Regions from separate parts of the Homo sapiens genome. Here region 1 is linked to region 2. Evidence: promoter capture Hi-C in 16 types of primary human blood cells and fetal thymus (Javierre and others, 2016). All regions are on one chromosome and are shown on one strand. Each heading gives the region's core, a stretch centred on a gene start or on the middle of the fragment in contact. The rest is flanking DNA. Distances are from core to core; before and after follow the strand shown. Region 1 overlaps LINC00996 (long intergenic non-protein coding RNA 996). Region 2 holds the start of ATG9B (autophagy related 9B).

Region 1 (4,470 bases), core at 1,971-4,470, 580 kb before region 2:
TATTGCTAGTCTGGAAAAAGATCAAAATTCAAAATGCAAAGTACAGTTTCTACTAAATGCATATCGCTCTCTACTATTGTAAAGTTGAACAATTGTAAGTCAAACAATCCTAAGTGTAAGTCAGGGACTATTTGTACATAGAACATAGAAAAATGGATGTGGTGTCTCACACCTATAATCCCAGCACTCTGGGAGGCCGAGGTGGGAGGACTGCTTGAGCTCAGGAGTTTGAGATCAGCCTGGGCAACATGGCGAAAGCCCATCTTACAAAAAAATACAAAAATTAGCTGAGCATGGTGGTGCAAGCCTGTAGTCACAGCTACCTGGGAGATTGAGTTGAGAGGATCACCTGAGCCCAAGAGGCCGAGGCTGCAAAGATCCGAGATTGCACTACTGCACACTAGCCTGGGCAACAGAATGAGATCTTGTCTCAAAAATAAAAAAGAAGAACATATAAAAATGTGGAACATAAAATATAGGATATAAGAAACATACAGCATATCAAATGCCTATAACTTAATAAGGAATGTGCAGACAACCCAATAAAAAATTGGGCAAAGGATATGAACAGGCAAGACACAGAAGACATTTAAACATTTAAAGCATGCTCAGCCTCACAGCTAATCAAACAATCTGATACCATCTCACACCCACCAGTCTGGCAATAAAGTCTGATAATACCAGCTATTGGTGAAGATGTAGAGAAATGATAACTATCAACCACTGTCAAACACAAATGTAAGTTTTTATAAACAGGACAGCAATGTGATGATATCCAGTGAATTTAAAAATGTGCATTCCCTAGGACAAAGAAATTTAACTTTACAGTATAGACTCCAGGGGAGCTCTCATCTGTATTTGTGTTAATTGTAACCTTATTTGTAGTAGGAAAAATTGGAAGCAGCCTGTAGGTTCATCACTGGAAGGGTATATAAAGGGCTACAGCTGTATCTGAAATATTTTCACTTAAAAAATCTGGAGCAAAAATGACAAACTGCTTAGACTTAATGAGCTGGGTGTTGAGTACACGGGTTATTTTCCATGCTTGTTCACACACTGTGCAATACCTTGTTTTAAAAAGATGATATTGTATTAGGAACCCAGGAATACCCTGATCCAGCTCCAGACCACAGTCAATCCTCCTTATTTTGTCTAGGCTGACCCTGGGGCTGGAATCTGTGGCACCTTCAAAAAGAGTGATGTGGAGGGTAGAAAGAAGCGTCACCTGTGGCAGGAATTGCAGAGCAGTAAGGAAAATGGGCATAGGGAAATCTCATTTGTTTTATGACAGTTTTGAGATATAATTCACATGCCACAAAATTCAACCATTTAAAGTGTACAAGTCAATAGTTTTTAGTATATTCACAGATATGTGCAACCCAGCACCACAGTCAGCCTCATAACATTTCTATCGCCTTGTATAGAAACTCTGTACTTTAAGGATCACTCTTCATCCTCCCATCTCCTCCCAGCTCTAAGCAACCACTCATCTACTTTCTGTCTCTATAGGTTTGACTAATCTGAACATTTGAAGTAAGTGGAATCATATAATAGGTGGCCTAATGTTTTCAAGGTTCATCCATGTTGGATCATGTATCAGTACTTCATCCCTTTTTAGGGCCAAATAATATCCTCTTGTATGGAAATACTGCATTTTGTTTATCCATTTATCAGTTGACGTTGAGTTGTTTCCACTTTTTGCCTATTATAAATAATGCTGCTACAAACATGCATGTACTACTTTTTGAGTAGACATGTTTTCCTTTTTTGGGTAAATACGTAGGAATGTCATTGCTGGATCATTTGATTATGTTTCACCATATGAGGAACTGCTAGACTGTTTTCCAAAGTGACTGCACAATTTTACATTCCCACCAGTGATGTATGAAGATTCCAATTTCTCCACATTCTCACCTCTTCCACATTCTCCTGATCCTCACTCTCTTGTTATCTGACTTTCTGATTACAGCCATGCTTGTGGGTATGAAGTCGTGTTCTCTTTTGGTTTTGATTTGCATTTCCTTTATGACTAATGATGTTACACATCTTTTCATGTGCTTCTTGGCTATTTGTGGGACTTCTTTGGAGAAATGACTATCCATATCATTTTCCCATTTTAAAAAATTGGGTAATTTGTCTTTTTATTATTGAGTCATAACATTTCTTTATATAGTCTAGAGACAAGTTCCTTATGAGATATGTGATTTTCAAATGTTTCTCTCATTCCGTGGTTTGTATTTTCACTTTTTAAGTAGTGTCTTTTGAAGTACAAAAGTTCTGATTTTGATAAAGCCCAATTTATCTATTTTTTCTTTTGTTGCTCATGCTTTTGATGTCATATCTAAGAACCTATTGTCAAATCCAATCATGAAGATTTGCGACCATGTTTTCTAAAAGTTGTATAGTTTTAGCTCTTATGTTTAGGTCTTTGATCCATCTTGAGTTAATTTTTGTATATGGTGTGAAGCGAGAGTTCAATGTCATTATTTTATATGTGGCTATCCCATTATCTCAGTATGATTTGTTGAAAAGACTACGTTTTTCCCCCATTGAATGGTTTTGGCACTCTTGTTGAAAATTAATTGACCATATATGTGAGGGTTTATTTCTGGACTCTTAGCTCTATTTTATTGATTTATATGTTTATCCCTATCTCAGTATCACACTATCTAGATTACTGCTGCTTTGTAGTAAGTTTGGCAATCAGGAAGTATGAATCCTCCAGTTTGTTCTTTTGTCAGAGTATTTTGGCTAGTCTAGGTCCCTTGAATTTTTATATGAATTTTAGAATTAGCTTGTTAACTTCTACAAAGAAGCCACCTGGGATTCTAATAGGGCTTTCTTGAATGTATAGATCAATTTTGGGAGTATTGCCATATTAACAATCTTAAGTTTTTTGATCCGTGAATATGGTATATTTTTCATTTATGTAGACCTTTAATTCTTTCAACTACGTTTTATAGTCTTTAAAGTATAAATTTTAAACTTTTATTAAATTTATTTCTCTTGTTCTTTTTGGTGCTATTATAAATGGAATTGTTTCAACTTTATTTTCAGATTGTGCATTGTTTTGAGATATAATTGGTTCTGTATATTGACCTTGTATCCTGTAAGCTCGATGAAATTACTTATTAATTCTAATAGTTTTATTTAGTAGATTCCTTAGGATTTTCTGTGTAGAAAATTTCTATGTAATTTGTGAATAGAGATAGTTTTATTTCTTCCTTTCAAATATGGATGCCTTTTTTGTGTGTGTGCTTAATTGCCCTGGCTAGAATGTCTACTTAATGCTGAATAGATGTGGCAAGAACAGCCATCCTTGGCTTGTGTCTAATCTTGAGGGAAAGCATCCAATCTTTGACTATTAAGTATAATTTTATCTGTGTGTTTTTTGGTAGATTCCTTGTATCAAATTGAGGAAGTCTCCTTCCATTCCTAGTTTATGAAGTGTTTCATTACAAAAAAGCATTAGATTTTGTCAAATATTTGTTCTGTATCTGTTGAGATGGTTATGTGTGTGTATGTGTGTGTTCTTAAAAGTCTTTTGATATGGTGTAGTACATTAATTGATTTTCAGATGTTAAACCAACCTTGCATTCCTGGGATAATTCCCACTTTTTCATGGTGTATAATTCTTTTTCTATATTTATGGATTTGGTATGCTAGCATTTTGTTGAGGACTTTTGCATCCACACATCTATATTCATAAGAGATATTTGTTGTTCCCTTCCCTTCCCCTTCTCCTTCTCCTTCTGCTTCCTCTTCCCCTTCCCCTTACCCCTTGCAGGTCTTCAGGAGTGCCTTTCACCAGTCCTTAGTCCTGGCCCACTGGCCTCTTGGGTCTGCCTTTCTTTTCAGCTTCCACAGGGAGCTTGGGGTGTGGGAATCTGCGCTGAGGCCCCTGTGCTGCCTGCCCAGGATCCCTGGGGAGCCACTTCTCTCAGGGGTCTCCCAGCACCTTTGCTGTGCTGCTGGGAAGTGGGATGCGGCCCCTTCTCTCAGGGCTTCCTGGCCTGCCTCTCACTTGCCTTTCTCATTCCATCAAGTATGTGGGTAGCAGGAAGGGGAAACTCTGGGGCCTGAGGGTACCCCCTACCTTCATCTTCCTGGCCATGTGTGTTCTCACATCCCCTCCTCTGGCCATCTCTCTGAGGCTGATGCTGTTGGAAACAAGGTCAAGGCGCCTCTCAGGCCTTTTCTTCTTCTGATTCTATCCCTCTCTTCCGGCAAAGAGCAGGAGCCTGCTAGTGCCTACATGGGAGGGCAGGGCCACCAGGGCGACAGTGTTGTGTGTGCGGGTGGAAGCACAGGGAGCTATCTATTGTGATGAACCCCAGCAAGGAGGGAGGAATGTGGCTACGAGCGATGCCTGGATTGCTGCTTGATTTTTCTAACACTTTCCTACTTCTCGCCTGCAGATGAAGCAGCAGCAGAAAAAATGGAAGCCATTTTGGTTAACGGGTCACATCT
Region 2 (4,559 bases), core at 510-3,009:
CTGAGGCAGGAGAATTGCTTGAACCTGGGAGGTGGAGGTTGCAGTGAGCCAAGACCTCACCATTGCACTCCAGCCTGAGCAACAAGAGTGAAACTCTGTCTTAAAAAAAAAAAAAGATATACTTAATACACTTTAAGTACAACTTAATACACTTAAGTACAACTTAAAGTATATTAAGTGTATTTTTGGTCCTAAGACCAAAAGCTTTGAGAACTGCTGATCTAGATGACGGGACAAAGTGGGGCTCCCGTCTACTCCTCTACCCACTGCCCATGCTTCACCCCCAGGGCCCCACCAGGTTGTCACTAACCTCTCAGCACACTGGGCTGAGGGTAGGATGGCATCTGACAGGGTCACTTTGCTGTGGAACGGCCCAGGTCTGGTATGGTTACTTGGTTGGTTGGCAAAGAGAACATTGTAATCCACGCATCGAAGGAGGAAGGTTGTGAAGGTGACAATGAAAATAAATTGTCTGCCGGGAGGAAGGGGGGGTGCCGGGATGCTGCAGTGATCAGGGACAGCCAGGTGGGCTCCTGCCCCAGCCCCCAGAGCAGCCCATGGTTATCCTCCCTGACCCTGCCCCTGCTGAGCCCTTGGGCTGCTCGGGAAAGCATGGGATGGAAGCAGCTGGCACAATTAAGGAAGCAAAATGACAGAAGGAAGCCATGGGCCCAGGGGACCGAGTTCCGGGCCCGGGCTAAGCGTCTCACCCCAGCTGGAAGACATCCTCCAGCAAGATGCAGGCAAAGCCATTCCGCTGGTGGTAGCTGTAGATGTGGCTGCGTGTCAAGGAACAAGCCTGAGGCACGGGGGGCCTCTCCTGAGGACACCTCCCCTCAGCCCCAACAAGTCTCCCACCCATGACGCCCTCACGGAGTCTCCCTGCCAAGAACAGTGCCAGCTCCAAGAGGACCTTCCCATGCCACCTCTGCAGGCCTAGCGCAAAGGATATCTTGGTGAAGAAACTGTCCAGGTTCTGGATGTGATGCCAGGAGCCTGGGCACAGAGGGGAGAGTGTCAGCCCCTGGCATGTGATCAATTCTCCACGTTCTCAACCCGCTGCCAGAGGCCCAGCCTGGGATAAGTACTGGAGCTCCCAGGCACCACTAACCCTCTCCCACCCACACCCACACACATACCTCGGAGCCCTTCAGGGACATGAAGCAGGGGTTGCTGCTCCTCCCCGTGGATGGGTGAGTCTTGGGACCCCTCAGGGTCACAGTCCTCCAGCCGCTCATAATCCTGTTCAGGGATCAAAGGGCCTACCCGCAGCCCAGGAGAGTCCTGGGGGCACTGCTGTGAGGGAGTGGGGGTTGCCGGGGCCAGGGGTGGGGTGGAGTGGGATCCCCAGGAGGGAGATGCAGAGGCAGGTGTCATTGCAGGTTGAGCCTGTGTTGGGGGGGTGGCTGGGATAGGGAGAGCACTGTGGCAAGACTGAGAAGCCCCTGTCCCCTGTAGCACTGAGCAAGGGGGCCCTGCGGTGGGAGGGGAAAATGAGGAGGGGGAGCTTCTTGTATGAGGGGCAGGGGACAGAGAGAAGATGGAGATCCTCCCTCCCCCAGGTCCCCGGCATGAAGGAGGAGGAGGAGGTGGCAGTGGCATGGGGAGGAGGGGCACCGATCCGGGCCCCAGATCTCCCCACCGCCCCAGCCGCCTTCTTCTCCCCCCCCAGCCCATTCGGCTCACCATCAGGCCACGGCTTCTCCAGAAAGGTTGGAAGGATGGGAGCTGTTGTTGCTTCCACAAAGGTCTGTGACACTGAGCTGGGACTTCAACAGGAACAATGACAACAACATTACTAGGTGACTCAGCCTAGGCAGGCCTCAGGCGTCCCAGCTCTCAGTCACCTGTCTGATCACTCACACCCCTTCCAGGGCAACCTGAGGCCAAATCCCTCAGGGCCTGAGAGGGGCATCAGTTTAAGAGGAGGGGCCAAAGAGCACATTGAGATGAGAAGATTCCTATTATCTCCATCTTCAGACCTTGAATGAATGAAAGATAAAAAGAACAGCAGCCAAAATGACAAAAGCAAAAAGCAAAATCGTGTTAGAGCCAGGTGTGGTGATGTGTGCTTGTGTTCCTAGCTACTCAAGAGACTGAGGTGGGAGGATGGCTTGGTGCAGGTTACACTGGAACAGTATAGGTTACAGTGAGCTAGATCCTGCCCCCTGCCACCCCCCCCAAAAACATCCTATTAAAGGATTGTAGCAGGGCGCAGTACCTCACACTTGTAATCAATCTCAGCACTTTGGGAAGCCGAGGAAAGAGGATTGCTTGAGGCCAGGAGTTCAAGACCAGCCTGGGGAACAGAATGAGAAGACTCCATCTCTACAACAAATCTTAGGACCAAGATGTTAACTATTTCATTTCTTAAGAGTGTACCTCCCCCACTTCCCTCCACACACACACTACAGTGATCAACAGAGAAATGTTTTGTGACCAAAACAGAAAAGAAGAAGTAAAGGGGCCAGGCATGTTGGCTTACACCCGTAATCCCAGGACTTTGGGAGGCCCGGGCGAGAGGATCACTTGAGGCCAGGAGTTCGAGACCAGCCTGAGCAACTTAGGGAAACACCATCTCTACAAAATCTAAAAAACAAACAAAATAATTTTTTTTCTTTTTGAGGCAGTCTCACTCTGTCACCCAGACTGGAGTATAGTGGCACAATCTCGGCTCACTGCAACCTCCGCCTCCCAAGTTCAAGTGATTCTTCTGCTTCAGCCTCCTGAGTAGCTGAGACTACAGGTGTGTGCCACCACACCCAGCTAATTTTTTGTATTTTTAGTAGAGATGGGGTTTCACCATGTTGGCCAGGCTGGTCTTGAACTCCTGACCTCGTGATCCACCCGCCTTGGCCTCCCAAAGTGCTGGCATTACAGGCGTGAGCCACTGCGCCTGGTCAAAAATAAATTTTTTAAAAAGAATAAGAAAAGGTTGCATGTTTTATTGGTCTGAGGTGCTAAGGAAGAGAAGAGGGGAGGCTGACTTTGCAGCCAAGTTGGGGAAAACTAAGAAGAGGAGGTGAAGAAAGGAAAGGCAGCTATCTTGGATTTGAGAGTTGGTTTGGAGAACTTAGAGTAGAAAATTGGGGTTCTCTGAAAGTTCCATTCCGTTTGCATCCTTATCATTTTCAACTGTGACATTCTCTCAAGTCCGGATCCCACTTCTGGGACCCCCTGAAAAGCATCAGGGCTGAATCAGAAGGGAGGACAGCTGTGAGTCTGGGACTTGGAAGGATAATTTGGATACCCAGGGAGGAGCTGAACTGAGTTCCTTGTTGTCACCTCAACAAGGAGGAGGAGACCCAGGCAGCTGGTCTGGTGGCTTGCCCAACGCCATTCTTGAGGCCCTGAATCACCAGGTTTCCTTCTAAAGCCCATTACTGAGATACTGACTCAGCCACCAGGTGTCAAGGTCTCTAGGGCTTAGGCCTAAGGGCTGATGTTGGGGCCAGTACCCCTGAAATGGCGATATGGACACTGTGCTTCCCAGATTGTTCACTGGAGGCAATCATGGAATCACCCACAAAACTTGAATCCAGATGTGCCTGATTTTCTCCTTCTGTGTGGGGTATTGTAGTAGTAGCTCAGGTCTTGCATGCCTTTATCTCAGAGTAGGAGGCAGAGCTATGAAAACAAGACCCTGTCCTTCTAGAGGTAGCAAAATGGAATCCCACATTGCAGAGGGGCCAGGAAATTCCCATAATCTTTCTGAGACATCTGTCAAGATGGGTTATGTGGGGTGTTGTCTAGTCTCTCCCCCACCTCACTCGCCCAATGTCACTCAGTATCGTGGCTATTCCACCATAGTCACAATAGGACCCCCCCATACACCAAGAGCTCCCCAGCTCAACCCCAAACTAATCCTGGGACATTGTCCTACCTAGTTTCACCCTGAATTCATTCTCATTGACAGCCTCCCTACCACCACTCCCAATTCAAGTCGATTTATTTTAAAGGGCACTTTTCCTTGCCAAGCATTTGGAAGGGAAGAGGACAGATGAATAAAACAGAGCCACTACCCAAGAAGCTGCAGCCCAGTGGGGAGACAAATACGCAAACAAGTAATTACAGGGAAGAAACGAGTGGTGCAAACTCTTTGGCAGGAGCCTGAGGCAAGTCATTCTGACCCGGGTGAGGAAGGTATCTGCGAGGCAGACAGATCTGAGGCCGCGCCTTGATAAATTACAGGCCCTCCATACCAATAGTTCTCAATGGCTGAGGCGTAGGGCAAGAGTGTCAGAATCACCGGGGGAGTTCTTCCCCAAGTACACGTGACTGTGGGGAAAAGAAAGAGAGATCAGATTGTTCCTGTGTCTGTGTAGAAAGAAGTAGACATAGGAGACTCCATTTTGTTCTGTACTAAGAAAAATTCTTCTGCCTTGAGATGCTGTTGATCTGTAACCCTACCCCCAACCCTGTGCTCCCTGAAACATGTGCTGTGTCAACTCAGGGTTAAATGGATTAAGGGCTGTGCACGGTGTGCTTTGTTAAACAAATTCTTGAAGGCAGCATGCTTCTTAAGAGTCATCACCACTCCCTAATCTCAAACCACTCCC

What was found. The method cuts DNA at HindIII sites, captures the fragments that hold promoters and counts their contacts. A CHiCAGO score of 5 or more calls a contact.
Region 1: a fragment that was not itself captured here is called in contact with the fragment with the promoter of ATG9B in region 2 in 1 of 17 cell types (non-activated CD4 T cells); the score reaches 5.2 in non-activated CD4 T cells.

The regions. Positions count from the first base shown.
Region 1 is chr7:150,438,131-150,442,600 of GRCh38, forward strand. It overlaps LINC00996 (long intergenic non-protein coding RNA 996), which reads left to right. Exons shown (of 4, transcript NR_034033.1): 2 at 4,419-4,470. Among named protein-coding and RNA genes, the nearest start is that of LINC00996, 6.7 kb to the left of the region's middle. The HindIII fragment of the contact is 7,363 bases long and covers 1-4,470 here.
Region 2 is chr7:151,022,735-151,027,293 of GRCh38, forward strand. It overlaps ATG9B (autophagy related 9B), which reads right to left and starts at 1,760. Exons shown (of 14, transcript NM_001317056.2): 1 at 1,140-1,760; 2 at 953-996; 3 at 711-775; 4 at 311-472. The coding sequence starts at 1,689. It overlaps LOC124901777 (a long non-coding RNA gene), which reads right to left. Exons shown (of 3, transcript XR_007060593.1): 2 at 4,073-4,278; 3 at 2,261-2,299. RefSeq lists enhancers at 2,671-3,275, 3,881-4,484, 4,485-4,559. The HindIII fragment of the contact is 8,592 bases long and covers 203-4,559 here.